Linked DNA regions of Homo sapiens: all the other regions are linked to region 3. Evidence: promoter capture Hi-C in 16 types of primary human blood cells and fetal thymus (Javierre and others, 2016). All regions are on one chromosome and are shown on one strand. The core of a region is centred on a gene start or on the middle of the fragment in contact, and the rest is flanking DNA. Distances in the headings are between cores, read along the strand shown. Region 1 overlaps NOCT (nocturnin). Region 2 overlaps NAA15 (N-alpha-acetyltransferase 15, NatA auxiliary subunit). Region 3 holds the start of ELF2 (E74 like ETS transcription factor 2). Region 4 overlaps NAA15 (N-alpha-acetyltransferase 15, NatA auxiliary subunit). Region 5 overlaps NAA15 (N-alpha-acetyltransferase 15, NatA auxiliary subunit). Region 6 has its middle 48 kb from the start of RAB33B-AS1.

Evidence for each region. Contacts are between HindIII fragments. The CHiCAGO score rates a contact against its expected background, and 5 or more counts as called.
Region 1: a fragment that was not itself captured here is called in contact with the fragment with the promoter of ELF2 in region 3 in 3 of 17 cell types (total CD8 T cells, non-activated CD4 T cells and activated CD4 T cells); the score reaches 6.8 in total CD8 T cells.
Region 2: a contact is called between a fragment that was not itself captured here and the fragment with the promoter of ELF2 in region 3, in 6 of 17 cell types (erythroblasts, M1 macrophages, naive B cells and 3 more). The highest score is 7.7, in erythroblasts.
Region 4: a fragment that was not itself captured here is called in contact with the fragment with the promoter of ELF2 in region 3 in 1 of 17 cell types (erythroblasts); the score reaches 7.5 in erythroblasts.
Region 5: a contact is called between a fragment that was not itself captured here and the fragment with the promoter of ELF2 in region 3, in 1 of 17 cell types (erythroblasts). The highest score is 5.0, in erythroblasts.
Region 6: a contact is called between a fragment that was not itself captured here and the fragment with the promoter of ELF2 in region 3, in 1 of 17 cell types (activated CD4 T cells). The highest score is 5.9, in activated CD4 T cells.

Annotation. Positions count from the first base shown.
Region 1 is chr4:139,018,106-139,022,050 of GRCh38, forward strand. All of the region lies in intron 1 of NOCT (nocturnin), which reads left to right. Among named protein-coding and RNA genes, the nearest start is that of NOCT, 4.3 kb to the left of the region's middle. The HindIII fragment of the contact is 254 bases long and covers 1,935-2,188 here.
Region 2 is chr4:139,341,275-139,344,712 of GRCh38, forward strand. It overlaps NAA15 (N-alpha-acetyltransferase 15, NatA auxiliary subunit), which reads left to right. Exons shown (of 20, transcript NM_057175.5): 5 at 1,552-1,686; 6 at 2,912-3,065. Among named protein-coding and RNA genes, the nearest start is that of NDUFC1, 41 kb to the left of the region's middle. The HindIII fragment of the contact is 3,464 bases long and covers 1-2,997 here.
Region 3 is chr4:139,175,394-139,178,859 of GRCh38, forward strand. It overlaps ELF2 (E74 like ETS transcription factor 2), which reads right to left and starts at 1,825. Exons shown (of 10, transcript NM_001331036.3): 1 at 1,574-1,825. It overlaps LOC105379412 (a long non-coding RNA gene), which reads left to right and starts at 762. Exons shown (of 4, transcript XR_007058273.1): 1 at 762-955. RefSeq lists an enhancer at 796-845, silencers at 1,446-2,405, 2,416-2,795 and a cis regulatory region at 3,162-3,286. The HindIII fragment of the contact is 9,266 bases long and covers 1-3,466 here.
Region 4 is chr4:139,360,094-139,363,914 of GRCh38, forward strand. NAA15 (N-alpha-acetyltransferase 15, NatA auxiliary subunit) reads left to right here. Exons shown (of 20, transcript NM_057175.5): 13 at 407-535; 14 at 1,631-1,844. Among named protein-coding and RNA genes, the nearest start is that of NDUFC1, 60 kb to the left of the region's middle. The HindIII fragment of the contact is 278 bases long and covers 1,112-1,389 here.
Region 5 is chr4:139,379,347-139,382,934 of GRCh38, forward strand. The region is part of intron 17 of NAA15 (N-alpha-acetyltransferase 15, NatA auxiliary subunit); the gene reads left to right. Among named protein-coding and RNA genes, the nearest start is that of RAB33B-AS1, 73 kb to the right of the region's middle. The HindIII fragment of the contact is 513 bases long and covers 1,723-2,235 here.
Region 6 is chr4:139,404,107-139,407,722 of GRCh38, forward strand. No RefSeq gene overlaps it. Among named protein-coding and RNA genes, the nearest start is that of RAB33B-AS1, 48 kb to the right of the region's middle. The HindIII fragment of the contact is 796 bases long and covers 1,826-2,621 here.

The sequences.
Region 1 (3,945 bases), core at 812-3,311, 160 kb before region 3:
TCGTAGGAATGTGGTACATTGTGAAATAACTGCCAGAATGAGTATATTGCCTGATAACTTTTTTCTTGCTGGAAATTTTAAGAACAACATTGTTAGAGGTTTGAGGTAGGAAAAGTAAAAGAAAACCAGGTGATGTCTTCTGTACCAGCTTATATCTTAAATTCCCTCAAAGTCTCAGAGGCAGGGTTAGTAGGTACCTCCTCATGGGAATACTGTTAGCTTGTGTAAAACATAGATGGCTGTGTTATCTGAGTAATTACTGTTATCTGAGTAATAATATCAGGTCAGATTGGAATGTTGGGCTTTTGACCCAAGAAAGTGTTTAATGAACTTCTTTTAAGAAATCCCCTGAAACCCCCTAGTTTTACAGATAAGGAAATTGAAGGACTTTATGGTACTTAAACTTTTGTAGGCAGTTACTATAAAGTCTAGACAATTTTCCTGTTCATGCATTTTTAGCTTCAGCAGCTTGTTGGAAGAAACATGCCTGCATTGATTCATTCATTGCTTGTTCACTCATTCCAGATCTTTACAGAATGTCTCACACAATGTAGGTGCTTTATTATGGGAGTTAAAAACATGAGCTTTAGTCAGTCCCTAAGGAGTTTACTGCCCAGTAAGAGATGAGATTTGCACAATGAAATGGCTGTTTAATGAAATGAAACACCTTTTATTCTCTTGACTTGGAAATGGCACAAGGGTGCAGGAAAGCAGGAAGTCCCTTTTGGGCTTCTAGAAATGGGTGGCATTTCAGCTGGCTCTTGAAGCATGGTTAGGATTGGAAGAGATTACTATAAAGCGTTTTGTTTGGAAAAAGCAGGAGTAAATGCAGAAAGGCATGAGACACACACAGATGAGGAAGGGTGAGAGAAGAGGCACTTTGCAAAAATGGACATTGTTTTCCAAAGAGCCTCAGACCCAGCACTAAGTGCTTTTTAATTTTAATTTTTATTTTTATTTTTTTTGAGACAAGGTTCTCTCGCACTGTTGCCCAGGATGGAGTGTAGTGGCGCCACCTCTGCTCACTGCAACCTCCACCTCCCAGGCTCAAGCAGTTCTCCTGTCTCAGCCTCCTGAGCAGCTGTGACTACAGGCACACGCCACTGTGCCGGGCTAATTTTTGTATTTAGTAGAGACAGGATTTCAACGTGTTGCCCGGGCTCGTCTCAAACTCCCCAGCTCTGGTGATCCACCTGCTTTGGCCTTCCAAAGTGCTGGGATTACAGGTGTGAGCCACTGCGCCCAGCCTATGAAGTGCTTTTTTAAAATGCAGATTCTTGGATCCTACTGTAGACCTATTAAGTCTGAGTCATTCATGATGGGCCCTGGATTCCACATAACCAAATGAAATGACAAAAAGAATAACTCCAGATTGTTCTTCTATGCCCTCAAATTTGGACATCTGGCACCCATATGTGAGAGAGACATTGAAGGGGCCAAAAGCTCCTCTCCACTCCTGAGCCTTGTGGTGGGGAGTAGTGAGTCCCGACAGCTGTCCACATTTGCTAATCAGTTCCTGCATAACTTATGCCCCTTGGCAATTGGTAGTTATTGGGAAGATAAGTACAGTCCCTTTGGAGTTATCAGATTCCAGGTTGTTAGAATTAAAAGGTGACCCTAGGGATGATCTCGGTGTTTGGCTTTCTTTTCTCAAGGATAGCAGCCCCCCTAAGAAGTAGCAGTTGCCACAGTTACTGTACTGGATGAAACGCAGTTGGAAGTCATCTGTGGATTTATAAATGCTATCCTCCACATCCCTCCTCCTCAGAGAATGAAGAGCTGGCTGAACTACTGTTCTCTACCATTAGAACATTTGCTTTTTTTCATGGTACAATTTATAGGCAAATGCCACCAGCTCATTTGAGAAGGCAGCTTTATTTAATATGTCCTTTAACTATGTGAGTAAACTGCTTATGAGAGAGAAGAAACGGGAAAGCTTGTCATTATCAAGCTGCTATGGAATAAATTGCTTTCCTTGTGGGAAAACTAATGTATGATTTTTCTGTTAGCATTCAATGGCAACAGTTTAAACATGGTGAACTGGGGTTCTTTGGGGTTAATAACCATGGCTCCAGATTCACATTCCACACACTTAACATTTGTAAATCATTTAACCTTGCTTGCTGTCTCAACACTAGACTTTACCTAGAACAAATGAATAAGATCAATTGATAGCAATTTATCCACAAGCTTTATTGAATAGTACATGTAAAAGGTGACATGACTAATTGCAGTGGGAGTTGAGAAGAAAGAAATCAGTGTGGCTGAATTTGTCAAGAAATGCTTTGCTTCTAATAGGTGAAAAAGGAGGGTGTTTTGGAAGGGGACAGTTTGCGGGGTGGTGGGGGCAGGCAGAGAAGACCACACACACAATGCCTGGAAGAAGGTGGCGCTCGCATGCAGGAGCTGTGGCAAGCATCTTAGGAAAAGGGGTAGAGGCAGAATCATTTGGGACAGTTGTTAAAATGCAGATTTCTGGCCTTTCAGCCCTCTGCTTGATCAGTTTCCTGTGGAGAAGCCCGGTGGAGTGCATATTTAACAAGTGCCTCAGGGGATTCTTCCAAAAAGATTAGGGAGTATTTATGAGCTCTGCCCCTCCTTTCCCCAAAGGTACTTATTCCTGGAAAGCTTGAGAAGCTCTGGAGAGGATTCTGGAAGAGCCTTAAGACCTTTGGTCTGGCCGGGCACAGTGGTTCACGCCTGTAATCCCAGCACTTTGGGAGGCCGAGGTGCGGATCACTTGAACTGAGGCATTCAAGACCAGCCTGGGCAACATGGTGAAACCCTGTCTCTACTTACATTAGAAAAAAAATAGCCAAGTGTGGTGGTGCACACCTGTACATCCCAGCTGCTTCGGAAACTGAGGCAGGAGAATCACTTGAACCCAGGAGGCGGAGGTATCAGTGAGCCGAGATTGCGCCATTGCACTCCAGCCTGGGCGACAGTAGGAGCAATACTCTGTCTCAAAAAAAAAAAAAAAAAAAGGATCTTTGAGCTTGGGGCCTAAGGCAGTTCAAGAGACCCCTGAGAAAGAACATTGACCCCCGAAAAAAGCAGCTTTAAAAAATTGTATATTTTGTCGAGACGGGTTTTGCCGTGTTGCCCAGGCTGGTCTCGAAATCCTGGGCTCAAGCAATCCTCCCGCCTCAGCCATCCAAAAGTGCTGAGATTACAGGCATGAGCCATCACGCCCCGCCAAAAGCAGCTTTTAAGAAAGGGAAGAAATTCCAGGGCCGGGCACAGTGGCTCAAGCCTGTAATCCCAGCACTTTGGGAGGCCAAGGCAGGCGGATCACCTGAGGTCGGGAGTTCGAGACCAGCCTGACCAACATGGAGAAACCCCATTTCTACTAAAAATACAAAATGAGCTGGGCGTGGTGGCACGCACCTGTAATCCCAGCTACTCTCAAAGAAAAAAAAAAGGGAAGAAATTTGCATATTAATGAAAGTTCAGTGAGAGGAAACTTGAGACTGAGGTTGTAATGGGAGTGTATCCATGTAGTCACTCTAAGTCACAACTTAGAGTAAAATGAGGTTTCTATGATGTTTACTAAAAGAAAAGTGAGGTAATTGTGTTCTGGCTTCTTGGAGTTAGGAAGGGAGATACAGCGTCTGTATTTGCTGTCAGGAGTCACTGGTGACTAATTACAGTTTTTCTGGTTTTTTTTTTTTTTAGACAGTTTTGCTCTTGTTGCCCAGGCTGGAGTGCAGTGGCGCAATCTTGGCTCACTGCAACCTGTGCCTCCCGGGTTCAAGCAATTCTCCTGCCTCAGCCTCCCAAGTAGCTGGGACTACAGGCATGCGCCACCATGCCCGGCTAATTTTTTTGTATTTAGTAGAGACAGGGTTTCACCATGTTGGTCAGGCTCCTCTCGAACTCCTGACCTCAGGTGATACACCCGCCTTGGCCTCCCAGAGTGCTGGGATTACAGGTGTGAGCCACCAC
Region 2 (3,438 bases), core at 16-2,515, 170 kb after region 3:
CTGTGTAGGGTTGACTTAATTTGATAAAAATTAACATCAGGCCAGGTGCGGTGGCTCACGCCTGTAGTCCCAGCACTTTGGGAGGCCCAGGTGGGTGAATCATGAGGTCAGGAGATCGAGACCATCCTGCCTAACACAGTGAAACCCCATCTCTACTAAAAATACAAAAAATTAGCTAGGCGTGGTGGCAGGTGCCTGTAGTCTAGCTACTCAGGAGGCTGAGGCAGGAGAATGGCCTGAACCCGGGAGGTGGAGCTTGCAGTGAGCCAAGATCACGCCACTGCACTCCGGCCTGGGTAACAGAGCGAAACTCTGTCTCAAAAAAAAAAAAAAAAAAAAAAAAAAGAAAATCAGTACTCCTCAAATAAACAATGCCTTTGTCTAGTATTGACATGTAACTCTAACATTTACTTCCCACATTTTTCTGGAAAGCAAAACAAAAAAAAAATTTTTTTTTTCTTGGAGACATTAGAGTCTCACTCTGTTGCCCAGGCTGGAGTGCAGTGGCATGATCTTGGCTCACTGCAGCTTCCACCTCCTGGGTTCAAGCAGTTCTCATGCCTCAGCCTCCTGAGTAGCTGGGGCTACAGACATGTGCCACCATGCCCAGCTCATTTTTTATATTCTAATAGAGATGAGGTTTCACCATGTTGCTCAGGCTGGTCTTGAACTCCTGAGCTCAGGCAGTCCACCCCACCTTATTCTCCCAAAGTGCTAGGATTACGGGCATGAGCTGCTGCACCTGGCAAAAACAAATGTTTTGTTTCTTCTTTCTACCTCCACTGACTCTAATATATTTTTGTAGCTTCGATTTTAACCCTTAAATTAGTGTTAGATCTATTTAGTTCCTCTTTCATATTCTTTCCTCTTTATGTATGTTAACTCTGTAGTTGGACACTTAATTTTTAAAAACATTTTTGAATATTTTTCCTTTGTGCTGTTCTTTCCATCCTGCCTCTTTTCTGGGACTGAGCAGATCAAGAAATAAAGAAGGGTCTTAAGTTTGGTCTTAAGTTTTAAAAACTTAAATCTGGTCTTAAGTTTTAAAAAAATTCTAAGATTAGCTTGGAGGCTTCATTATGTTCTTAACAAATATTTCTTTGCCTCCATAAAGCTACACAATATGGATGTTTGAAGTATTTTCTATTATTGTTCCCATCATTGTGTTGTAAAATGCTTGGGGTTGTGGGATAAATTAATGTGTGTTTTTTTTTTTTTTTTTTGAGACGGCGTCTTGCTCTGTTGCCAGGCTGCAACCTCTGCCTCCCGGGTTCAAGTGATTCTCCCGCCTCAGCCTCCTGAGTAGCTGGGACCACAGGCGTGCACCACCATGCCCAGTTAATTTTTGTATTTTTGATAGAGACGGGGTTTCACCATGTTGGCCAGGATGGTCTCGATCTCTTGACCTCGTGATCCACCCGCCTTAGCCTCCCAAAGTGCTGGGATTACAGGCGTGAGCCACTGCGCCTGGCCTAATATGGAGATCTTTTAAAGGAGCACTTGCTGTTACTAAAAGCCTAAGAAAAAGTGTTTATTTTTTTCCTTTTAAAGGAAACGAGGTATCAGTTACTTCAGCTTCGACCTGCGCAGAGAGCATCATGGATTGGTTATGCTATTGCTTACCATTTATTAGAAGATTATGAAATGGCAGCAAAGATTTTAGAAGAATTTAGGAAAACACAACAGGTAATAACTAGAAGCCATTTTACTAAGTCTGATCCTAAGTATAACTAAAAAAATAATGTGCATAGTCTGGCTTACTTTTAATTTTGAAATAGTTTCAAACTTATAGAAAAGTTGCAGGAATAGCACAAAGAACTCTACATAGGGGTTCATTCATACTAAACTAATTGTTAATATTTGGTGCATTTACTTTAAAATTTGTGTATCTATTTATCTATTTTAATTTTCTTCCTTAAATGTTTGAGAGTAATTGCAAGACATCATGCTCCTTTACCCCTAAATGCTTTAGTGTGTATTTTCTAAAAATAACTGTATAGTTTTCAGTTCTCTAGATAGTATTATAGGGATAGATTATAAAAATTAGGAAATTTAACACTGATAGACTGTTATCTAATTAATCCCCAGCCCATATTCAGAATTTACTAATTGTCCTAGTTATAGCCTTTCTAGCAATTTGATTTCATTGCAGGATCCAATTAAGAATCATACCTTACATTTAGTTATCATTTCTCTTCAGCCTCTTTTAATCTGAAACAGTTTTGAAAACTTCCTTTGTATTTTATGACATAGACATTTCTGAAGAAGGCTGTGCTTTTGTAGGATGTCCCTCAATTTGGATTTTTCTGATGGTTCCTCATTCTTAGATAGAGTTTTATAATTTTGGCAGGAAACCATATAAATGATATTGGGTCCTTCTGCGTTCATTACATCAAGAGGCACATGCCATCAGTTCGTTCCATTTGATTACATGGTGAAAGTTGTATTTGCAGTTGTAAACGTATTTTTCTCTCTTTGTGTTTAATATGCAGTTTGAGACTGAATAGCCTATTGCTCATCAAACTTTCACCATCTAGTTTTAGCATTCATTGATTATGATTCTTGCCTGAATCAGTATTACTATGATAGTCGCAAAATGGTGATTCTCTTAACTCTAGTCATTCCTTGTAGGTTTATTATTTGGCATTCTACTCCTGAGTAAGAGCTTTCCCTTCTTCCCCATATTTATTGTGTGTAAGGACTTATGGATTATTATTTTATTCAACCTGTTATATCCTAATATTGTCATTATTTACTCAGTTGCTCTGTAGATACTTAAGAATTTTTTAAAAATTAGTTTTATCAACCGGATGTTATCCTTTGACTTCTTACATGTTTTTGAGTATTGTGAACAATTTTCTGATATGAAAATAAAATTCTTACTGTCAGTATTCCTTATATCCATATACAGACATCCCCTGACAAGGTGGATTATGAATATAGTGAACTACTCTTATATCAGAATCAAGTTCTTCGGGAAGCAGGTCTCTATAGAGAAGCTTTGGAACATCTTTGTACCTATGAAAAGCAGATTTGTGATAAACTTGCTGTAGAAGAAACCAAAGGTATTTTTAAAAGAATTGTCATTTATTCTAATATTGAAATATGACAGAGCAAGGCTGAAAAATCTAGTTGCTGCTGACAGTTTCATATAATTCAGCTTTTTGATGATAGGAAATCTATTTCTTACTCGTGTACTTTTAATAGTTTATGATGTGGGAAAATGTACATTTAAACAATATTGTAGATAGAGGAGAAAGTTGATTGTGAACAATGAAAAGTAGTTGAATGAAATGACTCATAACATTCTTTAAATAAAGTATCTTTGTATTAAAAATATTATGGAATTTGATCAAAACACAAGAGACAATTAGTTTTATAAGACAGAGGATGACATTTCTTAGAAACAGTTTATTAATAAACTATAGTGTATGTAGT
Region 3 (3,466 bases), core at 575-3,074:
AGGATATTCCAATTTTCTATTTCATGTGTTTAACTACTAGATATCGTCTCAATAATATTTACATGAATGTACTCTGTAAACTGTAATGCTCTATAAAAAGTTTTATTATTCCTAAATTCCCTTAAATGTAATTTAATGGTTTCCAGTCCTATATAAGTCATTCTACCTTTTGAAGAAACTCTGAAACACAAATATCCAATCCTTTCTTAGTAAAGCATACATCCTTCCGTGATTCTGGCACCAAAGAAAGTGCATAATTTACTTCAGGATAGAGAATCACAGATAAAAAGGAAAACAAATCTGATTATCAAACACACGATTACTATTCTCTCATCACCGGATTACAATTTAAACCATTAAGCTGAAGTAAATGTTCATGAACACAAGAAAGGGGGGAATTTTTAACAGTTTTACAATGACGTGTCCCCCTCTTCCTCATTTAATGAAGTACTAAACTTAAAGGCTATTCTGCAGCGAATCTGCCTCCTAGAAAGAGTCCATCCAGGATGCTGGCAGAGGGAAAAAGATTAGAAACTGTGCGATCTGGATTATTCTTGGTGTCACGGAATATTTTTTGAGTCCTTTATGGACATGGAATAAAAATGCCCAAATGGAGCAGAAGAGAGGGCTCGGCTACCCTGATCACAAAGCTCCTGGGGTAGAGTCAGCATCCAGCCCTGGCAGAGCCCTCCCTGTCCTCCTTCCGCGCCCCTAGACCATCCCGTCGCGCGGTCCCTGAGGACCAGCTTCGCGAGGATCCAGAAGGCGGTCACTGGACGTGCCTGTTACGAGCCCGTTTTTGTTTTGCTTAAGAAACAGATTCCGATCCGAGCAAAGCCTCCCTACCTCCCGGGGAATAGGGGGAGATGGCAGCACGGTGCCGGCGTGGAGAGCGAGAATAAAAGAACTGCCGAGTACAACCTGTCGTGCAAGCTAGCAGCGCCGGGAAGGAAAGGTAAGCGGCGGCGATAAGGCACGACAGGGAAGGAAACTGGTGTCCAGCGCCCCCCCCCGCCTGCCCGCCACCCAGAGCGGCCGGAGCCTCCCAGGTCCCGCCCCGAGCTCGCCGCCCAGCCCCGGCGCCGGCCGCAGACTCCCGCCCTACACAAACCCTCCCAGGACGCGCTTCCTCCGGAGCCGGACCCCCGCCCTGGCCTCCCCGCGGGATGAGGCGGGTCAGTTCAGTCCGCTTCTCGGCAGAGGTGACTCGCGCAGAGATGTAAACACGGAGAGACCAGCTGCGCTCGGCCCATCCCCCCCGCCGGGGTCTGTAACCTCTTCCCTCAGCCCTGCCCCGCGCCCCGCGCTCCCCGCGGGCAGGCGCGCAGCGCGCCTTCCCCTTTCTCCAAGTCCCGCTCCGCGACCGTTGCCTGGGGACACTCAGCCCCCTTCCCCCAGCCCCCGGCCGGTGTCACCGCCGCAGCCGCCGGAAAACCCCTCCGCAAACCCCGAAGCAAACAACACAAGCGCGGGGCGGGGGCGCGGAGGGAGGCGGCGGCAGTCGGGACAGCCAGGCTTTATCGCCGCGCCCTTCGCGCTCCCTCTCACCAGCCTCGGCTGCCCGCGCTCTTACCTGCTCTCCGCGACGCCTGGGAAGACCGCGGCGTCCTTTTCCCTCTCAGCAGGGCCGCGGACTAGCCGCCGCCGTTGGCCGAGCGTCCGGAGGGAGCCGGGGCCTCCCCAGCAGCCCGAGCCGCTCCACAGGGAGAGAAGGAGACAAAACAGAGGCTCGCCGCCCCGCGCAGCGACCCCCGCCCGCGCCGCCCCACCGACCCCCAACCGCCTAGGCGACGGCGGCGACACAGAGCTTGGCGCTGGGAGCAATGGTTGCCCCCGCCCCGCTCCGCTCCCGGCCCCCTCCCTCCACCCCCCGCCTCGGCTCCTCCCCCTCGGCCTCCTGCCGCCTCCACCAGGACACTGGAGTCCGCCTCCCCCTCCCCGCCAGCTCAGAGTGCTCCTCCCCTCCCCACGCGGCGGGGGGGCGGGGGCGGCACCGCCAGTCACCGCAGCGCCTGTCAAACGCGGGCCGGCTATTTATACCCCGCGGGGCCCCGCCGCCCTCGGGCCCCCACCAGCCCGCCGAACCTGCTTCTTTTGCTGTCTTGAATCCCGCCCTCTTCTCCTCGCCCAACTTCTCCCAAACCCGCCTTCCCAGGTAAAGACGCTCGTCACTTGTCCGGCTCCTTGCCCAGGGCTCCCCGATCTCGCTCTCCACTCCAGCCCCGGATTGGTGCAGGGGGCTCTGCCGCACGGGGCAGGCGTGTGAGGCCGATGGGGCCGCGCGTGCACCTGCAGCGCCCGCCGGCTTTCCCCCGCCGGCCGGGACCGCACGCACACACCCTCGCCACTCAGGGCCCCCGCAGGCCCCGCCGTCACCGCATCCCCAACTCAGGACTCTCGCCCTTCTCCGGAGACGGCCCCACAGTCGGGCAGTCTGACAGTTACAGGGGGGCGAGGTTTTGCAAAAACTCCTAGCCCGGTCTTTCCAGTTCCCACTCCTCAGCCTTGGCTTAGTGAAAGGTGGGGGTTCGGGCAGGAGCGCGACGCCGGCCCCGCCCCGGCCGGTGACGCACGTGGCGCACCGCCCCGCCAGCCTCGCGCCCCTCGGCGCCGCCAGCTCCTCCTCCCCGCTAGCAAAAGCCGGGCGTAGTACACCCGCGACCCCGCCCCATTCCCAGAAATTACCACCCGCCCAACAGCCCGGCCGCGCGGCGGTTGGTGCCGGCGTTTGCTGGCTGTCGGGTGGCTGGGCCCAGCGCGCAGCTGCGGAGCGCGGCGGGCGGCCCCTTGGAGCTGCCCGGGGAGCTGCGGGCACTCGCACCTAGCCATTGTCGCTCCTTGCGCGGTCCGCAACGGAGAAGTAACTCAAGTCTGAGTGTTGTTGGTGCGAGAATGAGAGAGTGTTCTGGTGTGGGAGTATTTTGGCCCAAGTGCCTGCGAATTCGAAAACGAAAACCCAGCAGTGGCTGCACGCTTCTGGTTTCCACACTTTCACACAAAGGGGAGCCTTCGAGCGGGGCACTCTCACGCGCCTTCAAGTGCACAAAAGCCAATGACACGGTGCCGTGGGTTGCCCTGTGTAGGAGCGTCTCTTTAATGGGCTTTGTAGGCACAGTTAATGCATACAAACGCCTCAGTCTATTTCTTCACCACCACCATTCCCCGCCGCGGCGTTTTCTGTATTTGTTTCTTTAACAAAGAGCACAGCCTGTCCGGTGCGCGCGGGGCTCCTTTTGCTCCCCTCCAGGGCTCCTGCAGCCTCGCCGCGATGGACCTGGCACCTGGCGCGGTATTCACCAGCTGATTTCTGGGCTCCAGCGTTACCCTTTTTACGGCTTCACAACCAGTCTGGAGCAAAGAAGAAACACTGAGGAATATAAGTGATAGCTGTTCTCTTGAAAGGGACGTGGGAACCGTGGAAATCACCCTAGAGTAAGGCTCAAATGTCAGAAAGCTGCAGGAGGCT
Region 4 (3,821 bases), core at 1-2,500, 180 kb after region 3:
GGACTTTTAAACTGGTTTATATTCATGTACGTTCAGATAAATTTTTTAGGGGTCAAGGGAACTAAAATTTATTGAATACCTGCTATGTGGTGGTGTTCTTTTTCTTGTATTAATCCCTACCCTCAATTATGTAGACCTTTGAAACTACATTTGTGTTTCAAAGTTTCACAGTGTTGAACACACAGTGTGTGTTCAAAAGTTTCACAGTTTCACCTGTGAAACTACAAATTATTTTTAGTAGTTAGAGAATATCAGTTGTTTTCCCATGTTAACTATTCTTTAAGAATGTTTTAAAAATTTTTTTGAAAGAGTCCCAATCAGCTTAACATCTTTGTTTTTTAAAATTCTGTGGTAGAATGATGTCTATGATAAAAAGTGATCTTGAAAATATTTGATTTCTGTATAGGAAGGAACATCAGCGGTAGAGAATTTGAATGAAATGCAGTGCATGTGGTTCCAAACAGAATGTGCCCAGGCTTATAAAGCAATGAATAAATTTGGTGAAGCACTTAAGAAATGTCATGAGATTGAGAGAGTAAGTACCTTCTACATAAAAGTTTTCTTGTTTTATTCTGTCGATGGTTTTGGACAAATTTCATAGTTTTTTTCTCTTCTATTTCTTTATAATTCATAGTAGGTGCTTTTTAAAATCAGTATTCACTTTTTTCAGTTTTCATACTGGAAATATAGACTGCATTTTCAGCCAGGGTCTCTATTGTCTTGTGGTAAGAACTCTTTTTTAAAAAACTTTATGGAAAATTTGTATCTTGGCTATGTTTTTATTGATTTTTGAACCTTCCAAATTGCTGCTGCCGCTTTAGTAGTACATACACAGCTGATTAAAGTACTCCTAGGACCCTGTTCATTGTAGAATTTATTGATGATGCCATATACCCTTGGTAAGATATAAATGTTGGAAGACTTTTCACAATATTTCTTCTGTAGCTTATCTAATTTCATGCTGTTTGATAAAATTGTTTTCTTAATTCTCTTCACGTCTGACTCATTTCCATGACTAGTGGTTGGTTTTTCTTTTTTGTGTTTTACACAGATAAACATAGTTTATATAACTAATTTCACATTTGCAATATTGTCAAGTATAGAATACCAAAGCTTAGTTGAAATGCATCAAGTTCCTGATTGCTTGACTTACTTGCTAATTGATTTCTTTTCCACATACCAGCATCACATTGCATAGGATTCAGATTTGTATCCTCAAAAAAAAATTATCAAATACATCTTATAATCCTTTGCAAATGATTCTAAATATAAAAACTCAATGTTTAACATGTGAGTCTACTTGCACTACTATGTAAATAAATTATGTTTGATGTTGTCACAATAGCTTTAAGTATAATTAAGGAAGGGATAATGAATAAACATTTTTAAAGCTTCCTTTTTCAACAAATGATTCTGTGCCTGCAGTATGCCATATCCTGTGCTAGACAATGGCTAACTGTATTTGCTTATTTGAAATGCAAAATATTCCTGTTGAATAATTGTAATTGTTTTTTTAAAATTTTACTAGTTTTTTTCATGCCAAAGTAACAAGTATTCCAATGCTTTGATTTTATAGTTTTCTTAGCCATTGCTGTACTTCGGTATAATAATAAAAAGATAATTTTGTTAGCATTTTATAGAAATCACTGATGACCAGTTTGACTTTCATACATACTGTATGAGGAAGATTACCCTTAGATCATATGTGGACTTATTAAAACTAGAAGATGTACTTCGACAGCATCCATTTTACTTCAAGGCAGCAAGAATTGCTATAGAGATCTATTTGAAGCTTCATGACAACCCCCTTACAGATGAGAATAAAGAACACGAAGCTGATACAGGTATAATATTCAGAGTTCTTCTTGTGCTCTGATGTGTTTATGTGTATTTATGTGTATTATGTTTTTCATTTAATAGTATTGCTCCATGTCTTGAGCACCACGAGGAAAGATATTATACAAGGTTCTCTAAACAACAAAAGAAAAATGTTTACTTTTATGCTTCCAAAGTTAAACAAGAATTTAATTTGCAGTTATTCATTGGCATTTAAGAAGTTTGCATGTTATGAGTTTTACATTTAATATCTGGTTTACCCAAAATTATAAATTGCTAACTATTTTACAGGTACTAGATTGCTAATTGTATAATTAGTATTATAATTCTACATTAGTGTTGGCTATTAGTATTACTAGTTATTTTTTTGAGATGGAGTCTCGCTCTGTTTCCCATGCTGGAGTGCAGTGCATGATCTCGGATCACTGCAACCTCCCAGGTTCAAGCGATTCTCCTGCCGCAGCCTTCTGAGTAGCTGGGATTACAGGTGCCCACCACCACGCCTGGCTAATTTTGTGTTTTTAGTGGAGACGGGGTTTCACCATGTTGTCCAGGCTGGTCTCGAACCCCTGACCTCAAGTGATCTGCCCACCTCGGCCTCCCAGAGTGCTGGGATTGGCCTCCTAAAGTGCTGGGATTACAGGCATGAGCCACTATTCCCAGCCTATTCCTCTTTTTAATAGTAATTTATAATTAACCTACTAAAAATGAATATTGCTTGAACATTAAAAACCAGCTTGGGATAAAGCTAGGAAAATTGCACAGTGACTTATCATTTGACTCATTTTTAATGTACCGTTTTTATAGTAGGGTATCGGAATGACTAGGGAGAAGTCTTTCTTAGACAGTTATTTGGGACAGAACCTGAGAATGAGTGATCTCATACGTACAAAAATATGAATTTTGTGCCTTACTCATGGCAAAAATGTTGTAGGAATTGGGGCATAAAAAGTGTGTTTAATTTTTTTTTCTTTTAAGCCTATTTCTTTTTTGAGGATATGATTGGCTACTTTCTATATCCTTCTTCCTGCTAAACAGCTTTTGAATTATTTTGCTAATTTGTCGTTAAGTTTTACTTCCTGTTGCCTAAGGACAGTTTAGAAATTTCTAAGGTCACATACTGAAGCCTTTGTACAGATATCACTTGAATCTCTTTCTACCTGTTGGTGTTGCTTCAACTTAGAAGAAAACACCAGTAAGAAGAATCTGCTGGACAATTTACTGTTAAAGTTGAGAGCTATGACCCTCTGGCTTCTTTTGTTTTTCTTTCTATTCTTCTGCCTCCCTCCTTCTCTTCTTCAAATTATACAAATAATACACAATTAACTTTTCAAAGCTGAGACTATTAATACAGAAGTATACTTAGCAAATATGAAGATCCCCTTTCACTTTTCTCCCACCCATTCTTCATTCCAGCAATTATCCCTGTGAAAGGATCAATTCCCTTTATGCACAACTAGTTTCCAGAGTTCTATGTGTACATATACACATGCATTTCAGGATGGTTCTTTGCAGGGTTTCTTGTTTGATTTGTTTTTCTTTAGTCCATAATTGGGTTTATATCATACTCAGTGTTCTGCAACTTAGACTTTTTACCCCATTTAATAGTATTGCTCCATGTCTGCATATCATAATTATTATTTTCACTGTTAACATTTTAGTGACTGTAGGAATCTATGTGAATTTTTTCACCATTATAGTACTATAGTAAATGTCCTTGTACATAATTATGTGCATATTTATTTAGCATGGATTATTAGAAGTGGAAATCGGTGGGTTGAAGGATATGAGAATTTGGGATAAAAGGTTCATCAGTTTTTATTACCACCAACATGGGTATTGAGATTTTCTTTTATTTTACATTATTGCCAGCTCTGAAGGTTATTGTTCTTTTACATTTTTGTATGTTGGGCAAAATATCTAGTTTACAATTAATATATTTTATTTGTTTGTTTGTTTTGTTTTGTTTGAGACAGGATCTCATA
Region 5 (3,588 bases), core at 729-3,228, 200 kb after region 3:
TTTAATGTAAAGTAGAACTACAGAATTTTAGACCCTGAAAGGTAGAATGTTACAGTAATTGTCTCTCATTTCATAGTGGGAAAAATCTGAGACCTTAAAAGATGACTTATTCTAGGTAACAGATAGAAACTTAGTAACGCAACAGTGACTAGAGCCCACATCTTCATATTGTTCTTTCTACTGTAAGAACTGTACATTTATAATAAAGTACTCCTGTAGTCAGGTTGTATTGTTGTTTGGATTTTTAAGTGACTGGTGGGGGAGAAATAGAACCTTTAACAGAATAATCTATAGAATTTGGAAATACTATTAACTATCACATTGCCAACTCCATACATTTAAAACTGAGGAAATTAAATCAGGCATCCCAATCACCAAAAAAATGCTAAATTGTCCCAATTGAGAACATCATTTTGGCTGGGTGGAGTGGCTCACACCTGTAATCCCAGCATTTCAGGAAGCCGAGGTGGGCGGATCACTTGCGGTCAGGAGTTCGAGACCAGCCTGGCTAACATAGCGAACCCCCGTCTCTACCAAAAAATACAAAAATTAGCCGGCCATGGTGGCACATGCCTGTAGTCCCAGCTATTCAGGAGGGTGAGGCAGGAGAATCGCTTGAACTTGCAAGGCGGAGGTTGCAGTGAGCCGAGATCACGCCACTACACTCCAGCCTGGGCAACAGAGTGAGACTCCGTCTCAAAAAAACAACAACAACATCGTTTTGACTTTCCAGAAAGATTAGACTTAAATTATACTACGCTTGTCCAAAAACTAATTTGTGTTACAAAAACTGAATTGTAGAAGTGTTTTTCCTCAATTTTTAAAAATTATGAAAGTAATAATGTAACCATATTGTAGAAAGTAAAGGAGAGAATTGCTGTATTTAGTAGTTTGTTTCTCTTTAGTTTTTTTGGGGGGGGGGAGTATGAAAAATAACTTTGCAATCATGGGTCAGAAAATTAAGGATAGAAATAATAGTTTTAATTTATTCTCAGTTAAGATGGAGTATATGTATTTTCAAAATGAAGTATTTTCAAAAATAACATACACACTGTTATATACTTTATACATATTTTCCTGAAAGGTAGTAAAATAACCTAAATCCTTTTGAGTTAGATACTTTCTTTTGAAATACAAATTAAAAGTGACATATTTAAATGTATTTGCTTATAATCAGTATGTAGATTGATTAACATGAGTGTTTTCTTTCAGCAGTTGGTTTCAGAAAATTAAAATACACATGGGCTTAGAATGATTAATAATTAGTTAGAATTACTGAGTATCTATACTGGCTATACCCATTGCTCTTTGTGTTCAGCTGAAATCGTCATCACTTTACAAAGTGATCTAATTTTGACTGACTTTAGGCAATGAAATTAGGTTGTGATTATTTGCATTGGTAAAGATCTGTCTCTTAAAAAGCCTTTAAGAAGTTGGGTAGACTGCTTCATTGCCTTTATTGAAAACGGGTGTACTATAAAGGCATATGTGAAAATACAGATATCCAAATAGTGGCATCTTTGTTATACCCCAAGGGTTTCTTTAACTAAAATATTTGGTACTTTAAAAAAATATGTAATTTAGAAGTAATTTCTCAGGAATACATTTGTCATGTTAAGATATACTGTTGTAACTGCTTCTTTACAAAGAAACCCTCACAGACACCTTTCTGGAGAGTATAGAGGAAAACAGTGCCTCCATACCTATTTCATCAGTTGCGGAAGCTTTGCTGAGTGAATATGGATTTTAGCATGGTTACTGGCACCCTCCAAATCTCTAGAATATGTTGTTATACTAACAATGTTATTACTAAATGCTGCATGCAGTTATTTACCATATAGGAGCACTGTCTTTTTCTTATTATGAGGATGATATATTTAATACCCTTTTAAAGTTTTTTATGATTTTAAATTTTAAAGTTGTAGGACTTAAAACAATTACATTTCTGGTCAGTGCTAAGTAAAAGATAGGTGCTTATATATTCTATTTGTCTTATTATTTTCTTAAATGTTTATATTCTCCTAACTGCTTTTAAAATTAGCACTATTTGGCTGCCTTGATCTACAGTGAAACTTAGGTCTTTTTCCTCTCCCATTTGCACAAACTCATTTTTCTTTGATCTGCAGATATGTTTTTTATACTTATGTATGTCTCCTCCAACCTTCTTTCATAATCTAATTTGTTTATTAAACCTTGTTTAATACTTACTAAATTATTAAATTTTTTATTTTTTTAAGCTTTGTTTAATTTTCTCATTTATTTTGCCGTTTTTGAGTTGTAATCACTTACTCGGTTGTACTATAACCTAGTAGTGAACAGTCATTACCTCACACAAAATAAGAACATTTTTTACCCAAATTATTAACAATGCCAGCTAGCCTGAGAACCCTGTGCAATCCCTTTTGCTAAGAATCAGCCACCTTTTCATTGTGTGTTTTAACCATTGGTGCTTGCTTAATTTATTCATTCTGTTAATAAGCTAATAGCATGAACCAAACATTCCAGTTTAAGATGTCAAAGGACCCAAATCAAAAACCCCTTAGAAAAGGTTTTATATTCCCCTTCTCGCTCATCAGTTATTACTTTTCCTTGATTCTCAAGACTTATTACTCTTTCATGGAAGGTAATTGAGTTAGTAGGGGATTTGCTACTTTCCTGAGGCCTTGATGTTTTTTGTCAGTTTTACCACATTCAAAGGCTTTTTAGAGTTTTTCTCCCCTGCCCACTAGTCTTTAGCAGTAAATGGACATCTGATAATCTGTGACATATGATGTTGCTCCTTTTCTTAAGGGTACACATAAAATTTCATTACACAGAATTCCATAGGACATTCTGGGTTTTACTGCAGTAGAATTTTTTTATCCTTTTTGTAATTGATATTTTCCTGGAGGTTAACAATTCTAGTTTTCTGGAACTGTAATTTCCAGGAAAATATCCAGAAAAGTTTAGGAGAAAATTAGTAGGCCTCAAACTTTTTGGAATCAGCTGTTAGTGAAGTTATTTGCTTCAGTTTTGGTAGAGTTTTTTTTAGCAGTTTTAATTTTTCTGGGAGATTGTTTAATCTGATTAAAACAAGTTAAAAAAAGATAATGAAAACCATAAAAACCCCTTGCCTACCCCTCTCTTCATCAACTATGATACAAACTATGCAGATATTTTTTACATGTAAAGTATCCTGAAAGCATTTCAGGCAAACCAGCAAGGCCTATGTAAATAATTTTTATTGTACAGAAGATACATTCTTTTTGAGATAATTAATGTCATTGCAGTTGGCTGTAACCTATTTTAATAACTTTTTTCTGTTTCCTCTCTATTCCTGCTTTTCCACTGAAAAACAAGTATTGATAGATTGACAAAACCAAGTTGAAAGTACAGCCATAGTAGAGGTTAAACTAAAGTATTTCACTATAGCTCATTTACTTGAACCACCCAGTTTTATAGAATAATAGAAGAAATGCTATTTAACCAACAAAGAGCATGTCAGTGAATTATTCAGCTAATAATTATGTATAGAATATTTCACTTAGAAAATGTTTCCTACTGAGTTCATTATATTTTTTAAACTTAGATTAATGATCCATTAGCAGG
Region 6 (3,616 bases), core at 974-3,473, 230 kb after region 3:
AGCATTGGGGATTACATTTCAACATAAGATTTGGGTAGGGATGGAGATCCAAACCATATCAGGTAACAGGACTGTTTATTCCATTTTTTACTTATAATCTGAATTTAAATGTTCCCTAATTATAAAAACTGAATTAATTATTTTAGAGATAGGATCTCACTTTGTCACATAGGTTGAAGTGCAGCGTTGTGCAGTTTGAACTCCAGGCCTCAGCTTCCTCAGCAGCTAGTACTACAGGTGAGTGAGTGCCACTATGCTTGGATAAACATTTTATTTTAAATTTTTTTGTAGAGATGTGGTCTTGCTATGTTGCCCAAGCTGATCTTCAACTCCTGGCCTCAAGGGATCCTCCCGCTTCAGCCTCCCAAAGCATTGGGCTTACAGGTATGAGCCAACATGCCCTCTAATCTATTATTCTCTAATAAAAAGTTGGGCAATTTCAATCTATAGGAATAAAATAATCATTTTACCTTATGCAGGGTATTTAGTCATTTAACTATGATAGTTTATAGGTAATCATATAAGCACTTTTGGCTTAATCACTATGATTATATGTCCTGGAAATTAAGACACATACACACTCTGATTTTATTAAACTTTACACTGAACTTTTAGATTCAACATTAGATGGTTTAAAAGACAAAGGTGATGTCTCTCAAAGAGAAGTTTTTTTTTTTAAAAAAAACAGCTTTATAGGGGTAGAATTTACATAAAATAAGCCGTTCATATTAAAATATACCACTGACACGCACAGAGTTGCGACCTCATCCTTACAATCAAAGTAGTAAACATATCTATCACCCCAAAAAGTTTCCTCATGCCTCTCTGTAACGCCCCCCTCCTACCCTTCTCAGTACCTGCCCTCAGTTTTCTGTATGTGTAGATTAGTTTGCATTTCCTAGAGTCTTATATAAATGAGATCATATAGAATTTATCTTTTTCTGGGTCTGGTTTCTTTCAGCACAATTACTTTGAGATTCATCTGTGTTGTTGCATGTATCAATGGTTAATTCCTTTTTATTTTTGAGTAGTATTCCTCTAGTGTTGTAGAAAAACTAATTCTGAGCTTCCTCCTGCTAGTGGAAGAAATTACTACAATTTGGGACTTCTGTCTCTTAAACATTTAAATGAGCCTTTCTGACCAAAATAGGCTGATATTAATCTATATTAATATTGTGCCTGTGTGTGCTTTCATTGTTGCTAATGAAAATTTCAGCGTTAACTCTACAAATTGTGTGGTCAAAAGGATCACACAGAGGCTGTTTGTTAAAAATACATTCTTTGAAAGACAAAAGAAAGGGCTACTTTCATTGTTGTACAGTATCTTTCCCAAGTGGAACATCGGCGTTATCATAAAGACTGGAAATCGGCTTTCCATCCACCTGTAAACAAACAAGAACTGGGTTATTCCTAATCCTTTCCTATGCAAAGCCTTTTCTTATATCTCTCACTCTGGCTGAAATATTATTTCCTCTCGTCAACTGAGCAAATTCTGCCCACTCTTTAAGGATTTTCTCAGCTGGATATAAGTTCTTTCTTCTCTGATCTTTCATAACACATTCCATCTTTCTTTTAGTCATATGTAGTATTATCTTAAACTTTTTTGAGTATTTGTCTTATTTTTATATTGTTATAAGCTCTTTAAGGGCAAAGTGTATGCCAAATACATAGTAGGTACTCAAATATTTGCTGCATGAGTAAATAAACCTACCAGTAAGAAGCAAGAAAGTTATAGATAGTTCCATTTTTAGCCTACATGAGAACAGTGATAAGATTTCAAAAGGAGCATATCCATTGAACACTTCAATACATTTGGAGCCACAGAAGCTTTACATAAAGCCCCTAACCAACATTAAAAATAAGAGGATGAGAGAATTTTTACCTATACAAGGCTAGGTACAGGGATAGGAAGTAAATGATTATATTGTTATATACTGGCTGGATTCATTTTATATTGGATGATTTTTTTCATCTTATATGCCCCTACCATACCAAAAGTACCTATTCTAGTACTTAGGCCACAAACTTGGAATGTAGTGGAGCATAGTATCATGGTAAAACCCAGGCCGAATTTGGGCCAGGTGAACAAGAGCACAAAGGATTGAGGGTGTTTATGAAAAGTTGGATCATGAAACCTAGATCATGCATCTAGGCTGATTTAAGGAAGGAAGTGGCAGAAGAGGGCTTTTAGTAAGAAAATGGATGAGCTAAAGGAATGGACAAGATTGAAATTTAGGATAAGGAAGTGGCAGAGGAGGGCTTTTAGCAAGAAAATGGATGAGCTAAAGGAATGAACGAGATTGAAATTTAGGATTTAAGAGGTGATAAACCACCTGGTTTGTAACAAACTTAGATTTAGCTATAGAATAGACCAAAGAACAGAATAAAGTTGTGACAAACCACCTAATGTTGGCAAACAGGTACAGCCATAGAATAGACCAAGTGGAATGTGTTAAAGGGTATCAAATTGAGAGGATTCAAGGAATTGGAGACTAGGGCTGTTCACATGGACAGTGAGGTCATCTCAGATGATGATGGGACCATAAACCAGAGAGAAGAATAACTAGTAGCTTAGTAGATGACAGTAAGAAGCAGTAGAGAGATGGATGGTTGAAAATGAAAGCTTGAGGCTGGGTGTGGTGGCTCACGCCTGTAATCCCAGCACTTTGGGAGGCCGAGGTGGACAGATCATCTGAGGTCAGGAGTTCGAGACCAGCCTGGCCAACACAGCGAAACCCCGTCTCTACTAAAAATATAAAAATTAGCCGGGCATGGCGGCAGGTGTTTGTAATCCCAGCTACTCGGGAGGCTGAGGCTGGAGAACAGCTTGAACCTAGGAGGTGGAGGTTGCAGTGAGCCAAGATCACGCCATTGCACTCCAGCCTGGGCGACAAGAGTGAAACTCCATCTCAAATAAATAAATAAATAATTAAAAAAAAAATAAAAGCTTGAAAGGAGAGGGTTTTCTACAAGGGTGAGACAAATTAACAACTTCCACCCAAGAGAGAAGTAAGAAGATAATTTTTCTAATGGAAAACAGGTTTCTATTTCAGGCCAGAGATGGAAAGAATATTCTGTTAAAAGGGTGAAAATATGGGTAGGCACAGTGGCTCATGCCTATAATCCCAGCACTTTGGGAGGCTGAGGCAGGTGGATTGCTTGAGTTCGAGACAAGCCTGGCCAACATGGCGAAACCCCGTCTCTACTGAAAATACAAAAATTAGCCAGGTGTGGTGGTGCACACCTGTAGTCCCAGCTACTCGGGAAGCTGAGAATTGCTTGAACCTGGGAGGCAGAAGTTGCAGTGAGCCGAGATGGTGCCACTGCACTCCAGTTTGGGCGACAGAGTGGGACTCTGTCTCCAAAAAAAAAAAAAAAAAAGGATGAAAATACAGGTGAGTTTGTTTTGAATAGGCTGGAGTTCCAGAAAGCCCAGGAAAAAGGAGAGCAGAAGTAAGCAGAAGGGTTTGGGAGAGCTTGCAAAGCTCTCTGGGAAAGGAGAGCCACCTGTAGAGGCTTGTATTTGGAGAAGTGCTGAATATGATAGGGAACTGAAGATTAACTGGCCTTAGAGATCTCATGGAATTCCTATGAAAAGATGTTTCAGGACTGGTCC